Linked DNA regions of Homo sapiens: regions 2, 3, 4, 5, 6 and 7 are each linked to region 1. Evidence: promoter capture Hi-C in 16 types of primary human blood cells and fetal thymus (Javierre and others, 2016). All regions are on one chromosome and are shown on one strand. The core of a region is centred on a gene start or on the middle of the fragment in contact, and the rest is flanking DNA. Distances in the headings are between cores, read along the strand shown. Region 1 holds the start of ZNF583 (zinc finger protein 583). Region 2 holds the start of LOC124904788 (a long non-coding RNA gene). Region 3 holds the start of ZSCAN22 (zinc finger and SCAN domain containing 22). Region 4 overlaps ERVK3-1 (endogenous retrovirus group K3 member 1). Region 5 overlaps ZNF8-DT (ZNF8 divergent transcript). Region 6 overlaps ZNF274 (zinc finger protein 274). Region 7 overlaps LOC124904784 (a long non-coding RNA gene).

Evidence for each region. Contacts are between HindIII fragments. The CHiCAGO score rates a contact against its expected background, and 5 or more counts as called.
Region 2: a contact is called between a fragment that was not itself captured here and the fragment with the promoter of ZNF583 in region 1, in 1 of 17 cell types (neutrophils). The highest score is 5.9, in neutrophils.
Region 3: a contact is called between the fragment with the promoter of ZSCAN22 here and the fragment with the promoter of ZNF583 in region 1, in 1 of 17 cell types (neutrophils). The highest score is 7.2, in neutrophils.
Region 4: a fragment that was not itself captured here is called in contact with the fragment with the promoter of ZNF583 in region 1 in 1 of 17 cell types (neutrophils); the score reaches 5.3 in neutrophils.
Region 5: a contact is called between a fragment that was not itself captured here and the fragment with the promoter of ZNF583 in region 1, in 1 of 17 cell types (neutrophils). The highest score is 6.4, in neutrophils.
Region 6: a fragment that was not itself captured here is called in contact with the fragment with the promoter of ZNF583 in region 1 in 2 of 17 cell types (non-activated CD4 T cells and neutrophils); the score reaches 7.2 in non-activated CD4 T cells.
Region 7: a fragment that was not itself captured here is called in contact with the fragment with the promoter of ZNF583 in region 1 in 2 of 17 cell types (total CD4 T cells and total CD8 T cells); the score reaches 5.4 in total CD4 T cells.

The regions. Positions count from the first base shown.
Region 1 is chr19:56,402,249-56,405,886 of GRCh38, forward strand. It overlaps ZNF583 (zinc finger protein 583), which reads left to right and starts at 2,084. Exons shown (of 5, transcript NM_152478.3): 1 at 2,084-2,204. RefSeq lists an enhancer at 1,508-1,647 and a silencer at 2,108-2,317. The HindIII fragment of the contact is 8,045 bases long and covers 1-3,638 here.
Region 2 is chr19:58,368,645-58,372,282 of GRCh38, forward strand. It overlaps ZNF837 (zinc finger protein 837), which reads right to left. Exons shown (of 3, transcript NM_138466.2): 2 at 1,175-1,284; 3 at 1-717. The coding sequence starts at 688. It overlaps LOC124904788 (a long non-coding RNA gene), which reads left to right and starts at 1,163. Exons shown (of 2, transcript XR_007067364.1): 1 at 1,163-1,250. The HindIII fragment of the contact is 6,674 bases long and covers 1-3,638 here.
Region 3 is chr19:58,325,004-58,328,641 of GRCh38, forward strand. It overlaps ZSCAN22 (zinc finger and SCAN domain containing 22), which reads left to right and starts at 1,991. Exons shown (of 3, transcript NM_181846.3): 1 at 1,991-2,111. LOC105372480 (a long non-coding RNA gene) reads right to left here and starts at 2,245. Exons shown (of 3, transcript NR_144444.1): 1 at 1,820-2,245; 2 at 169-358. RefSeq lists enhancers at 1,876-2,618, 1,962-2,291. The HindIII fragment of the contact is 13,061 bases long and covers 1-3,638 here.
Region 4 is chr19:58,307,257-58,310,894 of GRCh38, forward strand. The region is part of intron 2 of ERVK3-1 (endogenous retrovirus group K3 member 1); the gene reads left to right. All of the region lies in intron 5 of ZNF8-ERVK3-1 (ZNF8-ERVK3-1 readthrough (NMD candidate)), which reads left to right. Among named protein-coding and RNA genes, the nearest start is that of ERVK3-1, 3.7 kb to the left of the region's middle. RefSeq lists a silencer at 3,447-3,638. The HindIII fragment of the contact is 5,065 bases long and covers 1-3,638 here.
Region 5 is chr19:58,270,068-58,273,705 of GRCh38, forward strand. All of the region lies in intron 1 of ZNF8-DT (ZNF8 divergent transcript), which reads right to left. It also overlaps a transcript of ZNF544 not described here. Among named protein-coding and RNA genes, the nearest start is that of ZNF8-DT, 6.9 kb to the right of the region's middle. The HindIII fragment of the contact is 2,554 bases long and covers 771-3,324 here.
Region 6 is chr19:58,199,795-58,203,432 of GRCh38, forward strand. All of the region lies in intron 4 of ZNF274 (zinc finger protein 274), which reads left to right. Among named protein-coding and RNA genes, the nearest start is that of ZNF274, 19 kb to the left of the region's middle. The HindIII fragment of the contact is 4,047 bases long and covers 1-3,638 here.
Region 7 is chr19:58,165,557-58,169,194 of GRCh38, forward strand. The region is part of intron 1 of LOC124904784 (a long non-coding RNA gene); the gene reads left to right. Among named protein-coding and RNA genes, the nearest start is that of ZNF274, 16 kb to the right of the region's middle. The HindIII fragment of the contact is 1,212 bases long and covers 1,472-2,683 here.

The DNA.
Region 1 (3,638 bases), core at 834-3,333:
CAACATTTTATTATAAACAATGTTTCAGCTGGGCTCGGTGGCTCATGCCTGTAATCCCAGCACTTTGGGAGGCTGAGGCAGACAGATCAGGAGGTCAGGAGATTGAGACCATCCTGGCTAACAGGTGAAACCCCGTCTCTACTAAAAATACAAAAAAATTAGCCAGGCGTGGTGGCACGTGCCTGTAGTCCCAGCTACTCGGGAGGCTGAGGCAGGAGAATGGCATGAACCTGGGAGGTGGAGCTTGCAGTGAGCTGAGATTGCGCCACTGCACTCCAGCCTGGGTGACAGAGCAAGACTCCGTCTCAAAAAAAAGTTTCAGTTAGTATTTTTTGCTGATATCATAGTTGCGTTTGTTTAATTTCCTCAAATAAAATTCCCAGCTTATATGATGCTCTTTGTCACTGGCAACTTTGGTCAGACAATTAAATGAAGCAATTGAAGGGCACAACAGGATTTTGGAAGGGATGGTACAGGATTGGGAGATAAACTAGAGATAGGAGTTTATAAAATATTTTCAAAGACAGATTGAAGAATAGGAATAAGAGTATGATATTGTGAAATATATATTTGATCTTCCTAGCATAGAACTTCTAAAATCCTTAGAAACTACAAAGTAACAGTAAAAACTCATTTTGTATGCTAATGAGTTGACAGCTGGCAACCCCTATAGAGTTTCAGGATGGGGACTGGTTATGGAAAGACCAAGACATGACTAGAAGGTTGGGACATTCAACCCCACCCCCAACCCTAAGGAGGGGACGGGATTTTAATCAACCATGCCTATGTAATGAAGCCTCTGTAAAACTCCCAAAAGACAGGGTTTAGAGAGCTTCCACCCAGCTGAACATGTGGAGGTTACTGGAAGGTGCAACACCCTTTTTTCTGTACTTTGCCCTACGCATCTCTTCATCTATATCATTTGTAATATCCTTTATAATAAACTAGTAAACATAAGTGTTTCCTGAGTTCCGTGAGCCACTCTAGCAAAATATCGAACCGCAAAGAGGGGGTGGTGAAAATCCCAATTTGAAGGTGGTGGAGTCAGATGTTCCAGAGGCTAGACTTTAGTGGGAAGTGGGAAGGGGGAGGCAGGCTTGGGGACTGAGCCCTCAGCGAATGGTGTCTGACCCATCTCCAAGTAGACGGCGTCGGAATTAAACTGGAGGACACCCAGCTGGTGCCCGCTGCAGAACTCACTGAACTCATTGCTTGCTTGAGATGTGTGGGAAACTCCCCTATATTTGGTCAGAAAAGTCTTCTGTTATGATTAGTTGTCGTTGAGATAATAGAAAAAAATGCACCTTGCGTTTTTTCCACTGATTCAGAGGGCATAACTGAAAGAATGAAGAACTGAAAGAATGATCTTAATACTCTGCTTCGCTTTTCTTGATAATACGCATTACTTCCCAATATGCATCAGTGTCCTTTATTATTAATTTTTTCCTATTGAATTCCTCCCGCATTAGAATGCTGCTCCATGAGGTGGGGATTTTGTCTGCTTGTTCACTGCTGTGTGCCCAGGGCCCACGACAGTGCCCGATACAGCAGGCGCTCAATAAGTGGCGAATGAAAGACAGGGCAAGGCGGAGAGAGAAGAAACAGAAAGGGAAAGAGAAAGCCCGGGCCGCCAGAGCGCTTAATCACACGTACATCCTACCGGGCCCCTCTCCAGCTGGCTCAGGCTCCACACTGGTCCTCCAGCTCCCTTTTCTCAGCGATGGACTCACAGCCCCACCCGGAGCGCTGGAGCGCGGACGCGGTCACTGCGCGTGCGCCTCACCGCGCTGGCACCCCGGCCTGGCAGCCTTTGGGGACCTGAACCAGCTGCGCCTGCGCAGGTGGAACGGGTGGAACGGGTGGGGGAGCGGACAGTCGAACGGCCTGAGAGGGCTCAGCTGGTCCGGGTGGGATTCTGAAGGCCAGCGGAGGTGGGCTTACTAGGGAAAGGGGCGCAGCAGTAACTACCCGCAACTGAGCGGCGGGATCTGCGGCCGCCCGGGGCCCTCGGCCAACATCCCAGCATCCTCTGCGCCGCGCCGGCCCCGGACTCCATTTCCCAGCGGCCCCTGCGGCCTGCCCTAGGGCTGCGGCGCCTTTGTGAGCGCGGCCGCCGGCCAGGATCGAGCCCTGGCCCGGGCCCTGGCCCAGCCCCGGCCTCCAAGGACCGCGCCGAAGGAGGTGCCCACTGGAGGGAGGAGGCGGTGAGGAGCGCGGGATGGAGCTGACGCCGGGAGCGGCCATGCCACCATGTGTGGGACCGTGTGTGACAGTGTGTGAGAATGTGTGAGACATTAAGGAACCGTGTGTGACAATGTGTTTGACAGTGTGGAATCGTGTGTGAGACCATGTGTGACTGTGTGAGAATTTGAGACCGTGTGTGACAGTGTGAGAATGTGAGGCCGTGTGTGAATATGTGTGTCAGTGTGAGACCATGTGGGACAAATGTGGGACTATGTGTGACAGTATGAGACTGGGTGTGAGAATGTGTGCGACAGTATGAGACCGTTGCCCCGGTGTATGCGGGAGCCTTTGACAGTATATGGGACCGTGTGGGACTGTGTGACACTGTATGTGCTTAAGACCACGTCACCATGTGTGAGACTGGGAATGTGTGACAGTGTTAAACTGTCATTATGTGTAGACCACGTGTGAACAGTGTGTAAGACCATGTCACTGTGTGTGTGACCTGTGTGTGTGGGATAATGTAAGACTGTGTGACAGTGTGTGTGACTTTGTGAACAGAGCTTGACCGTGTGTGTAGGATTAGATGAGACTGTGACAGTATGTGAGACCATGTCACCGTGTGTGAGGCTATGTGTGGTTGTGTACGGTGTGTGGCTGTTGATATGGGACCACATGAAACTGCGACAGAATTTGTGTGACAGTGTGTGAGACTGTGTCACTGTATGTGAAACTGTATGTGAACAGAGTTTTTGTTGTTGGACTAAGATTGTATGTGACAGTGTTTGAGATTGTGCATGACAGTGTGTGTGATTATGTGAGACTGAGGGAGATGGTGTGACTTAGCACTGTATGTCATCCCGACAGTGAGTGTGACAGTGTGACTGAGAATGGCCTTATATGACCCATTGTGAGAGCAGGGCGGGCTACAATGTGGGGGCATGTCCATAGGTTGCCAGGGGAGGTGCCAGAATGAGAAACTATGTGGTTTGTTGTCTGTGATTTGTGTGGGCAGGAAGCTGTGTGGGTGCTTGGAGATGCTGGTGTGCTCTGGGGTTTGGGAGACTGCTGTTGTGGTGGAGAGACAGAAAGATTGAGATAAAGGGGAAAAGATGGAGAAAGGGAGGGACGAGAGCTGAAAAGGGAGAGACAGACAGGAGCCTCAGCCTTAAGCCTGAAAAGCTGACCACGCTGGCTGCTTGTCCTCTGGCACAGTAGTTTTTCCATCCCTCTCAGTCTCTGGGGGCACGTGAGGAATTTAAAAGGAAAAAGGAATGGGAGACCTACCATGTGCTGGTTATGAAAATAAATGACAGAAAGATGAAAATTAAGCACTGTGCTCAATGCTTTATGTAGATCATTTCAGAATCCTCCCAACAATTGATAGGGAATAGTTACCATTTCACTGATAGAGAAACAGGTTTGCAGTGGTTACCTAACTTGCCAGAGGTTGT
Region 2 (3,638 bases), core at 602-3,101, 2.0 Mb after region 1:
ACCGGGCACACGGACGGGGCTCCTCCGTCGCCTGCAGCCTCTCCTGGGGGATCCGCAGGGCCCTCCACGCAAAGGCCTCGCCGCACGCGCAAGCCCGGGGCTGCTCCACCAAGGGGTTCCTCCCGCGGGAGGTCGGCTTTGGGGTCCTCGGGCAGGTCGGAGCGCCAGTCCCTGGTTGGCACGGCCAACAGTCCGTGTGGACCTCACACAGTTGAGTCCGGGGGTGGTTCTGGATCCGCTCCGGACAGGGGTCACACACGGGTGGCGTCTCCCCAGCGGGCGCCCCGCGATGCCACGCCAGGCAGGAGTTCCTGCTGCAGTCCCCGCCACGCGCTGGGCTCCTACAGGGGCCCTCCCGGGCTTGCAGCCCCTCGGGGATAACCAGCTCAGGGTTCTGAGAAGAGGTGGGGCCGCACGGCTCCCGCACGAGGGGTCTGGTCCCGGCGCTGTGCCGGGTCCCCGGGCCGGGGCTCACCCCGAGGCTGCAGCCCCGGGAGCCCCCGCCTGGGGGAGTCGTCCTACCGCCCGCCGCTCCACGCAGGTCCCCCTTTTGAGTGGGGCGGCTCCCAGCTCGGTCCTCTTCGAGGGGCCTCGGCTCCTCGGGCCTCTTCTCCCGGGCCCCGGAGGCACCCTGGGCATCGGCCTTGGGGAGTCCTCCCTGCCCAGCCTTCTGGGCTGGAGCCTCCATCCTGGGGCGCAGAGTTCTGGTTGTAGGATCTGGAAGAGCAGAGAAGAAATGGAGGTTGGCGGTTCCCAGGAGGAGAGAAGTGGAGAACTGGGCCAACGAGCGACCACCCCACAGCTGGCACCTACTGGGCGGCCCCCAGCTCTCTGCAGATGCGAAAGGGTAAATGGAGTGACATAGGCAGCCCGTCCTGCCCCTCTTCAAATTGTCACCACCCAGACCCCAGAGAACAGCTTCCCAGGCTCTGCCTGCCCGCCATCACCGTTCCTCCCCAACACTAGCTCCTAAAACACTGTGCCCCTGGCTAAGGCCCTCCCTGGTCCCCCTTCCCCAAGCAACAGGGACTCCCCCGTTGCTCAGCTGCCAGCTCCCCAAAATCTCACTTACTCCTGCCCTCCGTTTCTCAGTGGCAAGCCGACACTCCGGGTCCTCCTGGCTCCATTCACTGCCATTGTCCATGTCTTCTGAGAGGTGTGAGGTGAGACTCACCTGACAGCTGAGAGCCTGGCCGGGAGATCCACGCTGCAGAGGCCAATGCTGGACTTCCCCTCCCCTCTTCAACCAGGTAACGGTGGTGCTCTCAAGGCTGGCAGCCTCATCTACAAAATGGGTATGATAACGGTAAGTATAACCAGCTGAGTAGGGAGACAGGCAGCCCAGATCATTCAAGCAAGTGTGAACATTAGCAACGCCTGGCGCCTGCTATTACTATTTTAAAATTACACTGTGGCTGTATTAGTTATCTATTGTTAAAGCTGCTTTAACAAACTGCCACCCCATAGTGGCTTGAGACAGTGCAAACTTGTTATCTCAGAGTTCTGGAGGTCGTAAGTCCTAAGTGAAGGTTTCAGTAGTGTGGGTTCCTTCCAGAAGCTCTTGGGGAGGACGTTTGCTGACCATTTCCAGCTTCTAGGTGCCACCTACTTTTCTTTCTTCCATCTTCAAGCCAGCAGTAAGACATGTTCATCTCTCTCTTTCTGGGTTTGTTGTCAAATCTCCTTATACTCCTTATAGGATTCTGACCCTTCTGCCTCTTGTGATCACACTAGGCCAACCACACATAATCCAGGAATCTCCCCATCTCAAGATCCAAAACTTCATCACACTCAGTTCTTTTGCCTTGTGAAGTAACATAGTCAGAGGTTCTAGGAAACAGGACGTGCAGATCTTTCAGGGGGCCATTATTCTGCTTACAACAGTGGACTTTGCTGAGATACACACACGTGCATATATAAATATTCATCTCCTAAGCAAGCAATTGAATAGCAAGTGAAAACAAAGGACGGCCGGGCACGGTAGCTCACGCCTGTAATCCCAGCACTTTGGGAGGCCGAGGCAGATGGATCACCTGAGGTCAGGAGTTTGAGACCAGCCTGACCAACATAGAGAAACCCCGTCTCTACTAAAAATACAAAATTAGCCAGGCATGGTGGTGCGTGCCTGTAATCCCAGCTACTCAGGAGGCTAAAGCAAGAGAATCACTTGAACCCGGGAGATGGAGGTTGCAGTTAGCCGAGATCGCACCATTGCACTCCAGCCTGGGCAACAAAAGTGAAACTCTTTCAAAAAAAGAAAAGGAAAAAAAGAAAAGAGAGAGAGAGGGAGGGAGGGGTGAAGGCCGGGGGGGGGGAGCCGGGCGCGGTGGCTCACGCCTGTAATCCCAGCACTTTGGGAGGCCTAGGTGGGCAGATCACGAGGTCAGGAGATCGATACCATCCTGGCTAACACGGTGAAACCCCGTCTCTACTAAAAATACAAAAAATTAGCTGGGCGTGGTGGCGGGCGCCTGTAGTCCCAGCTACTCGGGAGGCTGCGGCAGGAGACTGGTGTGAACCCGGGAGGCGGAGCTTGCAGTGAGCCGAGATCACGCCACTGCACTCCAGCCTGGGCGACAGAACGAGACTCTGTCTCAAAAAAAAAAAAAAAAAAATTGCCGGGCATGGTGATGCATGCCTGTAGTCCCAGCTACTCAGGAGGCTAAGGCAGGAGAATCACTTGAACCTGTGAGGTGGAGGATGCAGTAAGCTGGGATTGGGCCACTGCCCTCCAGCCTGGGCGACAGAGCGAGACTCCGTCTCAAAAATAAATAAATAAATAAATATTTTCCTCATTGTGATGTGATGTGAGGTTTCTCAGCCTCACACGTGATAAGTGCACAATCCTCCTGTCCCCTCCCTAGATCTCATTGTTTCCAGAACAAAGATGGATCTGTCCAGCACAGCCTTTAGACTCTGAATCCCGGATGGCTAACATCATATGCAGAGCGTGAGATGGACACACTTGTGGCACCCTCGTAAATCACTGCTTCACTCGGCACAGGAGCTCAGATTCTTCTCCTTTTGTCCTGTGTTCCCTATTCTGTGCAAGGCAGATATCCTCTTATTTTATTTTATTTATTTTGGTGTTTTTTGAGACAGAGGCTCTCTCTGTCACCCAGGCTGCAGTGCAGTGGCGCCATCTCAGCTCACTGCAACCTCCGCCTGCTGGGTTCAAGCAATTCTCCTGCCTCAGCCTCCTGAGTAGCTGGGATTACAGGTGCCTGCCACCATGTCTGGCTAATTTTTTGTATTTTTAGTAGAGATGGGGTTTCACCATGCTGGCCAGGCTGGTCTTGAACTCCTGACCTTGTGATCTGCCCACCTCGGCCTCCCAAAGCGCTGGGATTACAGGCGTGAGCCACCGTACCTGGCCAGATATCCCTTTATTTATTTGTTTGTTTGTTTGTTTATTTTTATTTATTTAGAGACAGGGTTTCACTCTTGTTGCCCAGGCTGGAATGAAGTGGCACAATCTCAGCTCACCGCAACCTCCGCCTCCTGGGTTCAAGCAATTCTCCTGCCTAAGCCTCCTGAGTAGCTGGGATTATAGGCATTCACCACCAAGCCCGGCTAATTTTGTATTTTTTTCTTAGTAGAGCCGGGGTTTCACCATGTTCACGGGGCTGGTCTTGAAC
Region 3 (3,638 bases), core at 741-3,240, 1.9 Mb after region 1:
AAACAAAGTCGTATGTGGCTCACAAGCCCTTCAAGATCTGCCCCCACAGGCCTCCCTTTTCTGTCCTTGTCCCCTCCCATCTCCTTCCCTTAATCCACCCCAGCCAGTCTTCCTCATCCATGCCTCCTCCTGACGTGGGCATTTGTGTTCCATCTACCTTGAACTTACTCTCCCTGAGTTCTTCGCTCTATTCAGGCCTCAGCTTAAATACCAACTTCTCAGAAAAATGACTTCTTTGTTTACCATCTGCCTCCCCACACAATAACATCACCTCCATAAAGGCAGGCCATGCTTATCATCATTGCAGTATCCAATCTGCAGTGGTGCTGGCTGCCTGTTGTGGGTGCTCAGTATTTATCTGTGGAAGGAAAAGAATATATGCTCATTCCAGCTGCTAGCAGTCTGCAGGGCAAAGTCTGAGAATAATAGGGGATGTGAGCACAGGCTGGGGCCAAGAAACACCACCAGCACCACCAAGCAATCATACACACCCTGCCTCAAAAAGGCCTCACCTGAACATAGGCTGGGCCACCAACCTCTATGTATCGGGCCCCAAGCCAGAGTCTCCTGCTCAATGTCTCTTACACATACACACACACACAGAGAAGATACATTCTCACACACAGTCCAGGCATCGACTGAATCACACAATCACACTACCATTCACAGTCACCGTAACAACATCACACACAGTCTAGGGCCTTTATACTGTGTCAGGTCCACCCCATTACCTCTAAGTATCTGTCTCAGACACAATTACACCTGGTGCAGGCAAACACAGCTGCATGATTATCACATATGATGATTAAATCACAGGTCACACACACGCAGAGTAAGCACACAGAACAACCCACAAACCTGGTCACAGAGTGACTCATGCAGACAGACGCCCAGCTCAAATTCAGTAAAAAATGATACACATTTATAAAAATGATTACATGTGTTCACAGAGAGCCACACATAGCTACACTCAATACACACCCTGACATAGGCAACCACACCGCTCACCTCTCACAAAGGCACCTTCAGTACTTACACAGACACTCACACCCACAAGCCCTCAGACAGGCACCCTCTCCCCTCACTCCTAACATGGGCACCCTCACCTCTCACCCAGGTACCCTTGTTACTGGTGGAGGGTGTCCAGGTTCTTGGCATCTTGAACAAATAATTGGACAAAATGCACAAAGAAAAGAATGAAGCAACAAAAGCAGAGATGTATTGAAAATGAAAGTACACTCCACTGTATGGGAGCAGGCCGGAGCATAGGGGCTCAAGAGCCCGGTTACAGAATTTTCTGGGGTTTAAATACCCTCTAGAGGTTTCCATTGGTTACTTGGTATATGCCCTATGTAAATGAAGAGGACGAAGTAAAGTTACAAAGTGATTTACTCCATGTACGCCCTGCATAAATGGAGAGGATATTTCCTACCATAGCTGCAGTTTCCATTTGATTTACTTCTAGGAAGTCCTTAGGTTCCCTGCCTCCAGACCCGATTTTCTTGCCTCACCCTTACCCCTCACCCCTCACACAAACACCCTCAGCCCTCCCAAAGCCACCCTCAGCCTCACACAGCCGCCCTCACCCTCAGCCTCACACAGGCACCCTCAGCTCTCACACAGGCACCCTCAGCCCTCACACAGCCGCCCTCACCCTCAGCCTCACACAGGCACCCTCAGCCTCACACAGGCACCCTCAGCTCTCACACAGGCACCCTCAGCCCTCAGCCCTCACACAGCCGCCCTCACCCTCACCCTCACACAGGCACCCTCAGCCTCACACAGGCACTCTCACCCTCAGCCTTCACATTTCCCTCACCTCCAAGTCCCGCCTTTCGCGCATCGCCTGCTGCTCTCCCACTCAGCGCCACCTCAGTCCCACAAAGGCCGGGCTGGGATCCTGTGGCCTCCGTGCTGACCAACGTCAACTACAATTCCCAGCAGGCACCGCGCCTGGGTACACTTGAGCTTCCGGAGGACGCCGGGAATTGTAGTCCTGGCGGGCGTGGGCCCTTGAGGTGTGCTGGGAGCTGTGGTCCGGGTCGGCGGGCGCGCAAGTTGGCTAGTCTCTGCGGCCACCTCCGGAAGGGTCCGCCGGCTGTGCTGGTGAGGTGGGTTTCGGGGGTGTTCTCCGTCCTGATCCAGGCTGGAGAGGGGCACAGCAGGTCCAGAAGCCGCGAACCTCTGGGGCGGCCAGAGCGAGATGCGGGGTACCGCCCAGCGGGTAGAGAGTGAGAGGCTGACTAGGGGACGTGAGTAGACGGACTGCGAGTGCCGGACACACGCGCAGAGGATGTGACGGACTGACGGACCAGGCGTGGACGGACCGTGTGTGCACGGACTGACGGACCCGGTGTGGACAGACTCACGGACCGAATGTGGTGCGGAATGACACACTGAGTGCCGGACGGACCGACGGAGAATGTGTCGGACTGACGGAGTGTGTGTCGGATGGACTGATTGACCGGGTGTGGGGCGGACGAAGTGTGGAGCGGGCGGACAGATAACAGATAAAATGTAGGACCAGTGGCCTGGGAGGGTGTGGGGCGGACCCGTTTATGTGTCTGATAGGCGGTTCTGTGTCTGACACCTCTTGGGTGTGTGTATCTGACGGGTTGGAGTGTGTGATTCTGATAGGTTGAGTGTAACACTAACCATGGAGTGTGTGACTGACAGAGATGGTTGCCGTTTGAGACTTCCTACGTGGGTTGTGAGATACTGTGAGAGGGTGAGCGTGTGACGGTGGGATTTCAAGTGTGACTGATTTTCTTTGTGTGTCCTTGAGATGGTGACTAAGATTATGAATGACTGTGATCAGAATAATACTGTGTGATGGAAATGCTGCGAGGGCCTGTGTTTATTTTTGAGACGGAGTCTTGCTCTGTTGCCCAGGCTGGAGTGCAGTGGCGCAATCTCGGCTCACTGCAACCTCCATCTCCCGGGTTCAAGCGATTATCCTGCGTCAGCCTCCCGAGTAGCTGGGATTACAGGCACCGGCCACCACACTTGGCTAATTTTTGTATTTTTGGTAGAGACGGGCTTTCACCATGTTGGTTAGGCTGGCCCGGAACTCCTGACCTCAGGTGATCCACCTGCCTAGGCCTCCCAAAGTGCTGGGATTATAGGCATGAGCCACCATGCCTGGCCAGGCCTGTGTTTATTTGACTGATTATAGGTGACATTGAGATATTTCCTGTGTCTGGGTATTTTGAAGGCTGTGGCTGACAGACTGTACCTGAGATAATATGTGTTAATATCTGATTGACTGAGATTTTTATCAGGGAGACTAAAACTTGGGTGATCCACAAACAGTTTACCAAGCATATGAGAGAGGATTTGTGCTTTGCCATGTCTGCAGCTGAAACTGAGTGACTAGTGGTCATTCAGCTGGGCTTATGGATATGTCCCCCAGTGTTTGCTTACGTGTAGCAGGGGGCTATGGTATCCATACATCTACTGCATGTTTACTGTGCACCAGGCCTGTGCTGGACACTTATAATAAATCACCTCACATAATCTCATAGCAACCCTCTGAGGTAGGTACCATTATCAGGCTTGGTATAATCCATGTGTGAGAAATGAAAAGAACCACCCTCCTTGGTTGGTAAAGCAGCTGTGGATGGGGAACCTCAACCTGA
Region 4 (3,638 bases), core at 391-2,890, 1.9 Mb after region 1:
CAGTTACAACAGTCAGTGAGGCATCAGATTCCTCATACTGCTCCTGCGAAAATGCTTACTTTGACCCTAGCTTTTGAAAATGCAAATGCAGATTGTAAATGTGCATTAGCACCCGTGAGATGTACAAACAGCTTGGGAAATTTTCTCAAAGCCTGTCAGGATGTGGGAACTGAACTCCATCGTTCAACTGTGTTAGCTCAAGTAATAGCTAATTTAGTAGTGAACAAATCTGAAAAGGGCCAAGGGTTGAGCCCTAAAGTGGGAAAATGTTATAATTGTGGAAAAATTGGACATTTCAAAAAAGAATACCATCAGACCTCTGGGCAGAAGGGATCTTACAATGCAATACCGCCCCCCCCTCCCCGCCCCGCTCCCCCCAACACACACACACAGAAAAAAAAACACCAGGACTTTGCCCTCGCCGTAATAAAGGAAATCATTGGGCTAATCAGTGTTGCTCAAAATTTCATCAGAATGGCACCCCGCTCTCAGGAAATGAGAATGGGGCCTGGGCCCCTCAAACAATGAGGGCATTCCCCATCCAGGCCACAACCCTGCTACAGGGGTGGGTTCCTGGAGGAACATTGACTCCCTCTCCTCTGGAACACCGGGGAGTGCAGGATTAGATCGCTCAGTCAGAGAATGGGTCACGTTAGTTGGAGGAGACAAACCCACCAGAATTCCCACAGGCATTTGGGAACCTTTGCCAACAGGATATACAGGATTAATTTTAGGCCAAAGCCATCTGAACTTACAGGGCATTACTGTGATCCCTGGATTGTTGACTCTGATTATGAAGGAGAAATTCAAGTAATTGTAATGTCACAAGATCTTTGGGTTTTTAAACCTGGGAAATATATTGCTCAGCTATTGCTTATTATTATTCTCTGCAAATTACACCCTTCTTCACGAAAGGAGAAAAGAGGAAATCAAGAATTTGGGAGTACAACTACACAGGAAATTTACCTATCCCAACCCATAGCTTCTAATTGACCCACCTGTGCAGTGCAAATTAAAGGAAAGAAGTGTTGTGGGTGTATGGACACAGGAGCAGATGTTTCAGTAATATCCAAAAACAATTGGCCCCTGCTACTAACCTCTGCATCCTTAGTGGGAGTAGGAACAGCTCAAAGTGTTTAACAGAGTGCTGAAATTTTACTTTGTGTCAGTCCAGATGGACAGCCATGTACTTTTCAACCTTATGTTGCAAATATACGTGTTAATCTCTGGGGCTGAGATTTACTTACAGCATGGGATGTGAGACTTACAAATGAAAAGGTTGATAATCCAGGATTTAAAATATTGAAGGAAATGGGATATCAGAGTGGGAAAGGCTTGGGAAAGTTCCTACAGGGAAACCCCGGTCCGGTATCGGTAACTGGGCAAACAGATAGGAAAGGGCTAGGTCATCAGGATTTCTGATAGGGGTCATTGATACTTCTTCTCCACCCACTGCCTTGCTGCTAGAGTGGCTGACTGATAAACCTGTGTGGGTGGATCAATGGCCCCTATCACAGGAGAAAACTGACTCAACTCCATCAGCTGGTAAGAAAGCAATTGGATGCAGGACATATAAAAGTATCAGTTAGTGCTTGGAATTCACCAGTATTTGTGACCCCCAAAACGTCAGGAAAATGGCAACTGCTGCATAATTTGAGAGCTGTTAATGCACAAATTAAACCAGTGGGTGCATTACAGCAAGGTCTGCCATCCCCGGCAACCATTCCAAGAGATTAGCCTCTTGTAGTAATAGATCTTAAAGACTGTTTTTTCACTATACCATTACACAAGAAGGACAAGCCTCAATTCGCCTTCTCTGTGCCTTCTATTAATCAGAGAGAGCCTGTCTCTTGTGATCAATGAAAAGTTTTATTACCCCAGGCATGCTCAACAGTCCTACGTTATGTCAGCATTTTGTAGGAAAAGCATTGAAGGAGCCTCGGAATATGTTTTCCACCACCTACATCATTCATTATATGGATAATATTGTTTTGGCCACTCCTACAGATCAAGTATTATACCAGTTATTCAGAGAAATAAAATGGGCTTTAACTAAATGGAATCTCAAAATAGCTCCTGAAAAGGTACAAACAACCTCCTCATACCAATACTTAGATACTACTGTTACTGAAAAAAGTATTCAGCCTCAGAAAGTAGCTCTTCGTAAGAACAAATTACAAACTCTGAATAACTTAGGGGATATTAATTGGCTGCGCCCAATGCTAGGTATTGCTTCTTATCAACTCACTCATGTTTATCAAACCCTCCAAGGAGATTCTTCATTAGATTCCCCTCGGCAACTTACTAAGGAGGCAGAAGCTGAATTACAGCTTGTAGAAAGATGCTTCAGCAACGACATGCCTCCTGGCTACAACCACAAAAGTCTTTGGTTTTGTTTATTCTTCCTACCCCCCATTCTCCATCAGGACTTTTAGCTCAATTCATAGACAAAACTATAATGGTAATAGAATGGCTTTTTTTATCCAGTCAAACAGTAAAATCTTTGCAAGTTTATCTTGCTTTAGTCACACAACTTATAACAATAGGCAGGCATAGATCAAAAATGCTTACAGGATATGATCCTGATAAAATTATTGTTACCTTGGATTCCCAACAACAGGCTGCGGCCTGGGAGATGTCCACTGCATGGCAAATCACTTTCGCAGATTTTGTAGAAATAATAGATAACCATTATCCATCAGACAAAATTTTGCAGTTTTATAAAATTCACCCTTTTATTCCCCCTGTGATTGCTCATCACAAACCCATTTCAGGTGGACAGACCTATTTTACCGATGGCTCTTCCAAAAGCCACACAGCCATTTATGGACCTAAATATACTTAAATAATAAAGACCCCTAGAGTTTCAGCTCAACACTCTGAATTAATGGCAGTTATTCAAGTTTTAAAGCTCACAGCTTTATTTCCTATTAATATTGTCTGTAATTCAGCCTATGTCGTAAATGTAGCTAGTTGCATTAAAACTGCCACTATCAAGAGTGTACGGACCAGCCCCACAGGGTCGGTGGGTCTCTCCCTGTGTGCGGCGACGAGAGAGTGTAGAAATAAAGACACAAGACAAAGAGATAAAAGGCAGCTGGGCCTGGGGGACCACTACCACCAATGCGCGGAGACCGGTAGTGGCCCCGAATGTCTGGCTGCGCTCTTATTTATTGGATACAAAGCAAAAGGGGCAGGGTAAAGAGTGTGAGTCATCTCCAATGATAGGTAAGGTCACGTGGGTCATGTGTCCACTGGTCAGGGGGCCCTTCCCTGCCTGGCAGCCGAGGCAGAGAGGGAGAGGAGACAGAGAGAAAGACAGCTTACGCCATTATTTCTGCATATCAGGGACTATTAGTACTTTCACTAATTTACTACTGCTATCTAGAAGGCAGAGCCAGGTGTACAGGATGGAACATGAAGGCGGACTAGGAGCGTGACCACTGAAGCACAGAATCACAGGGAGACGGTTAGGCCTCCGGATAACTGTGGGCGAGCCTGACTAATGTCAGGCCCTCCACAAGAGGTGGAGGAGCAGAGTCTTCTCTAACCTCCCCCAGGGAAAGGGAGACCGCCCCCCACCCTTTCCCGGTCTGCTAAGTAGCGGGTGTTGTTCCTTGACACTTTTCGCTACCGCT
Region 5 (3,638 bases), core at 798-3,297, 1.9 Mb after region 1:
AAGGCTTCAAGGTAAATTGTGCTCAAACTATACAAATTCTGCTAGATGGTTATAGTTCCTATGTGAAGGTAACTTTAGAAAGTAGTGTTCACTTGACACTGATGTGAGTAATTCTTGCTGGAGGGGGCAAAAAGCTCATGAAATTTGAATAAAGGAGGAGGAGATGCAGTCAGATTGTTGATTGACCCTTCAGGGAATGGCATTTGCATAGCTGTGACGTGAACCCTAGGTATTGGCTTTTTTTTTCTTTTTTTTTGAGAAGGAGTCTCTGTTGCCCAGTCTGGAGTGCAGTGGCGCGATCTTGGCTCACTGTAACCTCCGCCTCCCGGGTTCAAGCAATTCTCCTGCCTCAGCCTCCTGAGTAGCTGGGATTACAGGCACGTGCCACCACGCCCAGCTAATTTTTGTATTTTTAGTAGACACAGGGTTTCACCATGTTGGTCAGGATGGTCTCCAACTCCTCACCTTGTGATCCGCCCACCTTGGCATCCCAAAGTGCTGGGATTACAGGGATGAGCCATTGCACCCGGCCTGTATTGGCTTTTAATTTTTAGGAAGTAACACATGGCTGTGACCTGACAACTTCATAGTGGCCGTAGGGTAGGGCACTGTTGTCATTATTCCTGTCACTGACAATGTCAGCCCCACCTGCAGATGTGGGAGAGTAGATGGGGAAAGTAGTAGTGGAGAGTAGAGGTTTCCCTTACCATCCTTTTAGGAAGTAGGCTTTTAAACATGATATGTAAGTTTATTTAGAAGATGAAAATTAAAGCTTGAAATGTAATATGAGAGGAATTGGCAGCGGATGTGAGTCAGATCCTCACCTGTCAGAGCAGGAAGTTAGTGAAAACTAAAGATGATTGGCTGGATGCGGTGGCTTATGCCTGTAATCCCAGCACTTTGGGAGGCTGAGGTGGGTGGATCACCTGAGGTCAGGAGTTTGAGACCAGCCTGGCCAACATGGTGAAACTCTGTCTCTACTAAAAATACAAAGATTAGCCCAGCGTGGTGGTGGGCACCTGTAATCCCAGCTACTCAGGAGGCTGAGGCAGGAGAATCGTTTGAACCCAGGAAGTGGAGGTTGCAGTGAGCTGAGATTGCATCACTGTGCTCCAGCCTGGGCAACAGAGTCAGACTCCGTCTCCAGGAAAAAAAAAAAAAAAAAGACTAAAGATGATCAAAGATTAGAATTACGGAGGTGTCCTCAAGAAGAATTGGAACAGATATGGTTAAAAGTGGCTGGAGGTGGGTGCAGTGGATATGGTGGTGCACACCTGTAATCCCAGTGCTTTGGGAGGCTGAGGCAGGTGGATCACTTGAGCCTAAGAGTTGGAGACCAGCCTGGGCAACATGGCGAGACCTGGTCTCTACAAAAAATACAAAAATTAGCCGGGCATAGTAGCACATACCTGAAGTCCCAGCTACTCAGGAAGCTGAGTTGGGAGGATTCTTTGACCCCAGGAGGTTGAGGCTGCAGTTAGCTGTTATTATATCACTGCACTCCAGCCTATGTGACAGTGTGAGACCCTATCTCAAAAAAAAAGTGATGTCGGGAGGCTGAGAGGATGAGTGACTGGGGCAGGAGATGAGTACTTTCCCTTTTAAGCCCATAGCATTTAATTCCCTGGTGGTTCACTTCTTATTTGGATAACTAACAAATTATTTCAAATGTGTGCCTATAGGTGAGAGAAGCAATGGTACATGAGGAGGTAAGCATTTGATTTGTGGGATTATGAACAACTGTCCTACTCTCCTTTTGATTCGGTGTCTCTGTATTAGTGATCTGACAATTTAAAAAATCAAGCAAGAGCAGGCTGGGCGCAGTGGCTCATGCCTGTAATCCCAGCACTTTGGGAGGCCGAGGCGGGCGGATCACTTGAGGTCAGGAGTTGAAGACCAGCCTGGCCGACATGGTGAAACCCTGTCCCCACTAAAAATGCAAAAATTATCTGGGCGTGGTGGTGGGTGCCTGTAATGCCAGCTACTTGGGAGGCTGAGCAGGAGAATCGCTGGAACCCGGGAGTTGGAGATTGCAATGAGCCGAGATTGCCCCACTACACTCTAGCCTGGGCAACAGAGTGAGACTCCTTGACAGGAAAAAAAAAAAAAAAAAGCATAAAGAAAAGATGTCAGACTTGTCTGTTTGGCCAGTTTGAGTTTATTTCAGCAGGCAGGGCAGGAAGGTTCCTTGGCTTCCTAGAATCCCCTGGAGTTGGATGGGTGTGGTGGCTTACACCTGTAATCCTAACAGACCAAGGCCCAGGTGGAAGGATCAACTGAGGCCGTGAGTTTGAGATTAGACTGGGCAACATGGCAGGACTCTGTCTCTGCAAGAAATAAAAAACCAGGTGTGGTGGCACGCGCCTGTTGTTCCAGCTACTCAGGAGGCTGAGGTGTGAGATCACTTGAGCCTGAGAAGTTGAGGCTGCAGTGAGCTGAGATTGCACCACTGCATTCCAGCCTGGGCAACAGAGTGAGACCCTGTTTCTTTAAAAATAAAAATAAAAATAATCCCTTGGATTTAAAGGGAGTGGGTTAGTCCTTGAAGATTTGATTTTCCAGAATTCTTATCAAGAAGAAGTTGAGGCGGGAGAATCATGAGGTCAGGAGTTCAAGACCAGCCTGGCCAACATGGTGAAACCCCGTCTCTACTAAAAGACGTGGTGGTGCGTGCCTGTAAATCCAGCTACTCAGGAGGCTGAGGCAGGAGAATTGCTTGAACCGGGACCTGGGAGGCGGAGGTTGCAGTGAGCTGAGATCGTGCCACTGCACTCCAGCCTGGGCTACAGAGCGAGTCTCCTTCTCAAAAAAAAAAAGAAAAGAAAAGAAAAAAAGGCCGGGCGCGGTGGCTCATGCCTGTAATCCCAGCACTTTGGGAGGCCGAGTTGGGCAGATTGCAAGTTCAGGAAATCGAGACCATCCTGGCTAACATGGTGAAACCCATCTCTACTAAAATTACAAAAATTAGCCGGGTGTGGTGGCGCATGCCTGTAATCCCAGCTACTTGGGAGGCTGAGGCAGGAGAATCGCTTGAACCCAGGAGGCGGAGGTTGCAGTAAGCCAAGATCGCACCATTGTACTCCAGCCTGGGCAACAAGAGCGAAACTCTGTCTCAAAAAAAAAAAGAAGAAAGAAACCAAAAAAGTAGAAAATCATATTATCATATACTTTAATAGCACAACAAAATTACAAATTAATAATTGTGGGTATTTTAGAATATATATGAAACAGCTATTTGGTCAAAGAGGAAATAAAAATACTACATCTGTTTAAGTAAAAATAAGTACTCTGTATCAAATGATCAACATGAATACAAAATACCAAAGCTTGCCTAAAGCCTAGGCCGGGAACGATGGCTCACGCCTGTAATCCCAGCACTTTGGGAGGCCAAGGTGGGCGGATCACCAGGTCAGGAGATAGAGACCCGCCTGGCCAACAGGCCGAAACCCTGTCTCTACTAAAAATACAAAAAATTAGCCGGGCGTGGTGGCGGGTGTCTGTAATCCCAGCTATTTGGGAGGATGAGGCAGGAGAATCGCTTGAACCCGGGAGGTGGAGATTGCAGTGGGCCGAGATCGTGTCACTGCACTCCAGCCTGGGCGACAGAGTGAGACTCTGTCTCAAAAAAAAAAAAAAAA
Region 6 (3,638 bases), core at 706-3,205, 1.8 Mb after region 1:
GTTATACCAAAGAATAAATTATTAAAGAATGAGCAGGACCTATTTGAAGAAAGTTGTAAGTGCTGGAGTGTGGAAGACTTGATAAATAGAAGTATTAACTTATTTTGAGGGCTTAAAAAGGCTAGAAGTACTGATGTCCTTTTCCTGAGTCCTGAAGTCATTCTAGCCATCAACCTCTGGAGAAATGCTGCTGGGGCCATTTTACCATGGGACCAGAAATACAAGTCCCTGACATGGGCTTGGCTGAGAAGAAGCAAGTGGGGTGCAAACTATGTGTGCTTTCATGTTGCAAAGAAGCTGTGTTGAATCAACAAATATTACTTGAGCACTTGCCAGGATTCCAGGTACTGTTCCAGGGCTGGATCACAGTGATGAGTGGGGCAGGTCTTACACCTGCTTTCATTGGGCCTACATCCATTCCATGGCTGATTGGATCAACAAAAATGAAGTTGCCCATTCAGTACCTCAATTGCACTGGGCACCTTTCAACTGCTCATTGGCCCTGCAGCTAATGCTACTATGTTGGACAGTACAGATCTAGAACATCTCATTTATAGAAAGTTCCATTGGACAGCACTGCTCTAGATAGGGTGATAGACATGATAAATTAATGAATCAGATATTTGGGATGGTAATGAGTGTTGGAAAGAGAAGGAAACAATGGGATACATTGGTGGGGGACAAGCGAGGTACGGGTGGGCAGCAGTAGTTCAGAACTAAGTAGGAAGATGGTTCTGAGGAGGTGACGTTTGAGCTCAGACCTGAATGGGAAAGGCGAACCAGGTGAAGATGTTGGGGAAGGTGAACCAGGCGAAGATGTTGGGGAAGACTATACCAGGCAGGAGGGTGGTGCACATGTGGATCTCTGGATGAAAGGCCATATTCTAGGAAAACTAAGATGGTGGCTGTGGGAGACCCCTTTAGCGTCAAGGACATGAAATAACAGGGTTTGGAACCCGGCTCCTTTGTTGCCCACTATGTTAGGCCGTTCTTAAATTGCTGTAAATACCTGAGACTGGGTTATTTATGAAGATAAGAGATTTAATTGGCTCACAGTTCTGCAGGCTGTACAAGGGTGGCACTGGCATCTGGTTGGCTTCTGGGGAGGCCTCAGGGAGCTTTTTACTCATGGTGGAAGGCAGGGAGCAGGCACATCATGGGAAAAGCAGCAGCCAGAGAGAGGAAGAAGGTGCCGCATACTGTTGTTTGTTTGTTTTGTTTTTTTTTTTGGAGACACGGTCTCACTCTCACCTAGGCGGTAGTACAGTGGTGCGATCATGACCCACTGCAGCCTCGACTTCCTGAGTTCAAGCGATTCTCCCACCTCAGCTTCCTGAGTAGCCAGGACTACAGGCACATGCCGCTACGCCTGGCTAATTTTTTTTTTTTTTTTTTTTTGTGGAGATGGGGTTTTGCCATGTTGCCCAGGCCGGTCTAGAACTCCTGGGCTCAAGCGAACCACCTACCTCAGCCTCCCAAGGTGCTGGGATTACAGGCGTGAGCCATTCTGCCCGGCCACACTTTTTTAAACAACCAGATCTCGTGTGATTAACTTAACCACCAGGAGGATGGTGCTAAGCCATTCTTGAAGGTTCACCAGGCCCCACCTCCAACACAGCATCACTTTTCAACCTGAGATTTGGTAGGGACACAGAACCAAACCGGATCATCCACTCTGCAACCCTGGGCAGGGTTCCTAGCCTATCCCAGCATGAATTTCTTTTTTTTTTTTTTCTTTCTGAGATGGAGTCTTGCACTGTCGCCCAGGCTGGAGTGCAGTGGTGTGATCTTAGCTCACTGTAACCTCCACCTCCTGGGTTCAAGTGATTCTCCTGCCTCAGCCTCCCAGGTAGCTGGGACTACAGGTGCCCGCCACCTCGCCTAGCTAACTTTTGTGTTTTTAGTAGAGACGGGGTTTCACCATATTGGCCAGGCTGGTCTCAAACTCCTGACCTTGTGATCTGCCCACCTCGGCCTCCCAAAGTGCTGGGATTACAGGCATGAGTCACCGCACCAGGCATATTTCTTTTGTGTATGGTGTACATTTGCTTCCTGGGACTGTGGGCAGCCTTCGTGAAATGATGGTACTGTCATTGATTCAAAAACTGAGTAACGTAAAGATGATCAGCAGCCTTTGGCAGATCCTCTACTTAGGGGTGTGAGATCCACAAGTCCCAGTTGGCAGCCTCAGTGGTACACTGGAGGAGACAGATGCAGAAGGTAATCCAACAGGGAGCTTAGGGGCACTGAGGGAATGATGAGAGAGAACAGGAGAGCTGAGAGCTTTCCAGACAAGGAGGAAAAGTGATGGGGTACTGTGCCCAGGGATTAGGGGAGCTGAGGGTAAGTACTCTTCTGACTTTTCCCCCACAAGCTGCTAAAAAGATCATTGCTTTTCGTTATATTTTGGACTGGTATACCTGGCTAATCAGCATTCACTGGCAAACAGCACTGTGAGGAAGACAGCTGCCTAAGGCCTGTTTGTCACCCTGGAAGGGAAGCAGCAGAGAGGTAGAAGTATCCTGAGAGAAGAAAATAGTGTCAAGAGGGAGAAAGCAGCAGCTCCCATCAAGCCCTTACCACATGCTGTGCCTGGACTTTGGTATCTCATCACTTTGGGTGAAGAAACTCAGGCTCAAGAAGTTAATCTCTCTTGATTAAACCCCTTGCTTTGAGCCTCAGTGAATTTGTTTCACAACCCATTAGACAGACAGTTGTAGGTGAGGTGACTACATTGCTACGGGCTCATTCAGTTGCTGGACTGAAAGCCATTTGGAGCTCCAGCTGATAGGGATTATGCAGCTCCACATGAGTGGGTTGGGTCAGTCATGTCTGTGGAATGAGATGGGTGGAATGAGAATCCAGTTCCACCTCTGCCTGGTGGTGAACTTAAGAGCTTCCATTTTCTCCTCCATGAAGTGGAGCAGCTAATTTCCTGCAATAGACAGTGGTAAGGATTGCCCTAAAGGTCTTGGGATAGTCTATGGGTTGACATTTGGAGGACTGAGGTGCACAGAATGAGTCCATCACTTCCTCACCAGTTTCTGGGTTTGTGGTCTCTCTGTTCACTGTGGTGTCCTTGGTTCCACAGCATGCAAAAGGTGCTTTATGATAACTGTGTACAGAACAGAGTGTGGGGCCTCATGGGTTAATAATAAAGATTAAAGCAGAAGTAAGTACATTAGAAAGGGGTGGGGTGGAGTAGAAGAATCCAACAGTTGTTTTCCTAGGGGCCAAGGCATGAAAATCCCTCGATTAAGGAATACAAAAATGAAATTTTAGAAATTTATGAAGTAACGTTTAAGATGTTTAAGTGTCATGCATGGTTACCTAAAATAGTACTGGTGGCCCAGTGCTGGTCTGCCACTTAGCCCCCCCCCAGGAAGTACAGATTCAGTTGGTGCATGTCCCATGTCCTAGGCACTTAGTCCGGTGCTGCTGGGCCTCCAGTAAATCTTATCCCCAGCTGCTTCTCAGGAAAAATTCAAGCCTTAAGAGCTGTAATTGGGCTGGGCACGGTGGCTCACACCTGTAATCCCAGCACTTTGGGAGGCCGAGATGGACGGATCACCTGAGGTGAGGAGTTCGAGACCAGCCTGGCCAAGATGGCGAAACCCTGTCTCTACTAAAAATACAAA
Region 7 (3,638 bases), core at 828-3,327, 1.8 Mb after region 1:
CACCCAGCTAATTTTTTGTATTTTTAGTAGAGACGGGGTTTCACCGTGTTAGTCAGGATGGTCTCGATCTCCTGACCTCATGATCCACCCTCCTTGGCCTCCCAAAGTGCTGCCATTACAGGCATGAGCCACCGCGCCTGGCCTTGTTTTTGTTTTTTGAGACAGAGTCTCATTCTGTCACCCAGGCTGGAGTGCAATGGCATGATCTTGGCTCACTGCGACCTTCACCTCCTGGGTTCAAGCAATTCTCTGCCTCGGCCTCTCAAGTAGCTGGGATTCAGGCACCCGCCACCACACCTGGCTAATTTTTGTATTTTTAGTAGAGACAGGGGTGTCGCCATCTTGGCCAGGCTGGTCTTGAACTCCTGACCTTGTGATCCACCCACGTTGGCCTCTCAAAATGTTGGGACTACAGGCGTGAGCCACCGTGCCTGGCCCACTAAACAATATTCTTATCAATGAATACCACTACATACATGACTCATTGTAAAACAACATTCAGATTTAATAAACCATAAATGCACAGGGAAAAACCCCTGAAAATTATGATTTTGGGAATGCTTTTGGTCAAAACACTCAACTTCTTAGACTTGCAAACAGTTCAGTGTAGAAAAGCCTTATATATGAAATATACGTAGTAAATTTTTTAAGTGTAGCACAAGTCTCAGTCAATGTAAGCGAATTCATGTTAGAGAGAGTTGAGTTGAATGTAAGGAATGTGGAAAAGTGTATTCAGAGCTCCTCTCATCTTTGTTTTGAGAGCACTCACACAGTTGACAAACCCTCCAGATGTTCTGAATGTGAGAAATCCCTGTTTATGGTAAATACTTTCTGACATCAGAGAAGTCATACTGGAGAGAGACCATATAAATGTAGTATGTGTAAAGAAGTCTTTAAACAGAGCTCAACCCCACTGATGTATGAGCAAACTCTCTCAGGAAATAGACCTTACAAATGTGTTGAGTGTTGGAGAGTCTTTATTAAGAAATATTTCTTTCAGTATGTTTCAGAACTTATACAGGAGAACAATACTATAAATGTAATCGCTGTAGCAAAGGCTGTAGACACAAATTATACCTTATTCAATATGAGACAATTTATACTTGTGGGAAATTATATATTTGCAGTGAATTTAGGAAATTCTTCTAAAGAAGTGAACACTTTTACCCTATAGCTAAGAATCTATAGAGACACCTTATGAAGGGAATCATTCAGGGAAAGGTTTTACACTTTGCTCCTCCACTACTCAAAAATCACAGAAGACACACTGGAGAGCAAAGTGATGGATACAGTCATCGTGGGAAAGGCTTCAGACGTAGCCTAGCCCTTATGATGTGACATCAGAGGACTCATACTGAGGAAAACCCCATACATGTAATTTGCGTGGAAGAGCATTCAGGAGTTGTTCTCATATTATTGAACGTAAGAGGACTCATACTGGAGAACACTATGAATGCAGTCAGTATTGGCAAGCTTTCAACCATGGCTTTTACCTTATTTGACACCAGGAAATTCAAACAAATTAGAAAAACTCATTGAAAAAAGATCAATGTGGAAAAGCTATTGGTTGGAATTCCATTTTATTTGACATCAGGGATAAAGGAGGCAAAAGCCACCAGTTATTTTTTAACTCTTAAGTATCTGAATGTAACAAGACTGCAAACTTGTGACTCCCTGCAGCCACAGATCAGCAGGGATAAGCAGTTCTATTCTACATATGTCCCTAATTTGCCATAGAAACACCATTTAATGGGGACTCAGGGTCTAGGCCTGATGAACAATGTCTCATAGAAATGTCTGGCCATATGCGGCTGGGCACAGTGGCTCACGCCTGTAATCCCAGCACTTTGGGAGTCCGAGGCGGGTGGATCACGAGGTCAGGAGATCAAGACCATCCTGGCTAGCACCGTGAAACCCCGTCTCTACTAAAAATACAAAAAAAAAAAATTAGCTGGGTGTGGTGGTGGGCGCCTGGAGTCCCAGCTACTCAGGAGGCTGAGGCAGGAGAATGGTGTGAACCCAGGAGGCAGAGCTTGCTGTAAGCCGAGATCGTGCCACTGCACTCCAGCCTGGGTGACAGAGCAAGACTCCGTCTCAAAAAAAACAAGAAAAAAAGAAAAAGAAAAAGAAATGTCTCCCATATGCCTGTAATCCCAGCTACACAGGAGGCTGAGGCAGGAGAATAGCTGAACCCAGGAGGTGGAGGTTGCAGTGAACCAAGATCACACCACTGCCCTCCAGCCCGGGCAACAGAGCAAAACTCCATCTCAAAAAAAAAAAAAAAAATGGTTGCCATAGATAATCATGGCTGGGCACAGAGGCTCACACCTGTAATCCCAGCACTTTTGGAGGGCAAGGCAGGTGGATCACTTGAGCTCAGGAGTCCAAGACCAGCCTGTGCAACATGGAGAAACCCCGTCTCTAATAAAAATACAAAAATTAGCTGTGCGTGGTGGTGCATTCCTGTAGTCCCAGCTACTTGGGAAGTGAGGACTGCTTGAGGGGGTCAAGGCTACAGTGAGCTGAGATGGTACCACTGCACTCCAGCCTGGGTGACTAAACGAGACCCTGTCTAAAAGAAAAGAAAAGAAGAGAAATGGTTGTCATAGGTAATCACATGTAAATTTTTTTTTTTTTAAAGAGTGAGCAACAGTAAGATTTATTGCAAAGAGCGAAAGAACAAAGCTTCCACAGTGTGGAAGGGGACCCAAGCGGGTTGCCCATAAATGTTATCAGTGGCAACAGCGTATCTGTTTTTCTACATCACGTATGAATAAAAGAACCGTCAACCTTGAAGAATGGTGCAGGAATCATATGGCAACAGCGTATCTATTTTTCTACATCACGTATGAATAAAAGAACCGTCAACCTTGAAGAATGGTGCAGGAATCATACACCTTTTAGCATCATGGGGATCCTTATGTGTATAATTTTATGATAGTCCTAGATGAGGGCTGAAGGATATGCTATCAATTTTTTTCTGCATAATCCAAATATTATCACTCCAAACAAATCAGAGAGCTTTATACTAACTTGCTAATACTTTGCCAATAGCATTCTTCTATCTACTTGAATAGAAGCATCATAAAGAGTTGTATGTTGGCCAGGCACGGTGACTCACACCTGTAATCCCAGCATTTTGGGAGGCCGAGGCAGGAGGATCACCTGAGGTCAGGAGTTTGAGACAAGCCTGGCCAACATGGTGAAACCCTGTCTCTAGTAAAAATAGAAAAATTAGCTGAGTGTGGTGGCACATGCCTGTAATCCCAGCTACTTGGGAGGCTAAGGCAGGAGAATCAGTTGATCCCGGGAGGTAGAGGTTGCAGTGAGCCAAGGTTGTGCCATTGCACTCCAGCCTGGGTGACAAGAGCAAAACTCCATCTCAAAAAAATAAAAAAAATGAGTTGTACGTATCTTCACATTTCTAAGGGCATGTCCAATGTCTTGGCAGGGTTAAAAAGACATCATAGTCTGGTGAAGTACCCATACTCCAAAACTAGTGCAAACTTCACAAGTTTCATTGCAAATCCCTTACAAAGAGCACAGGGTATGTATAAGCAGCATTGGTTTCTCTTCTGAAACCCTGGACACTAGAAGATAAGTGAAGATTCCAGAAACACAAAGACTCTGATTTCAGG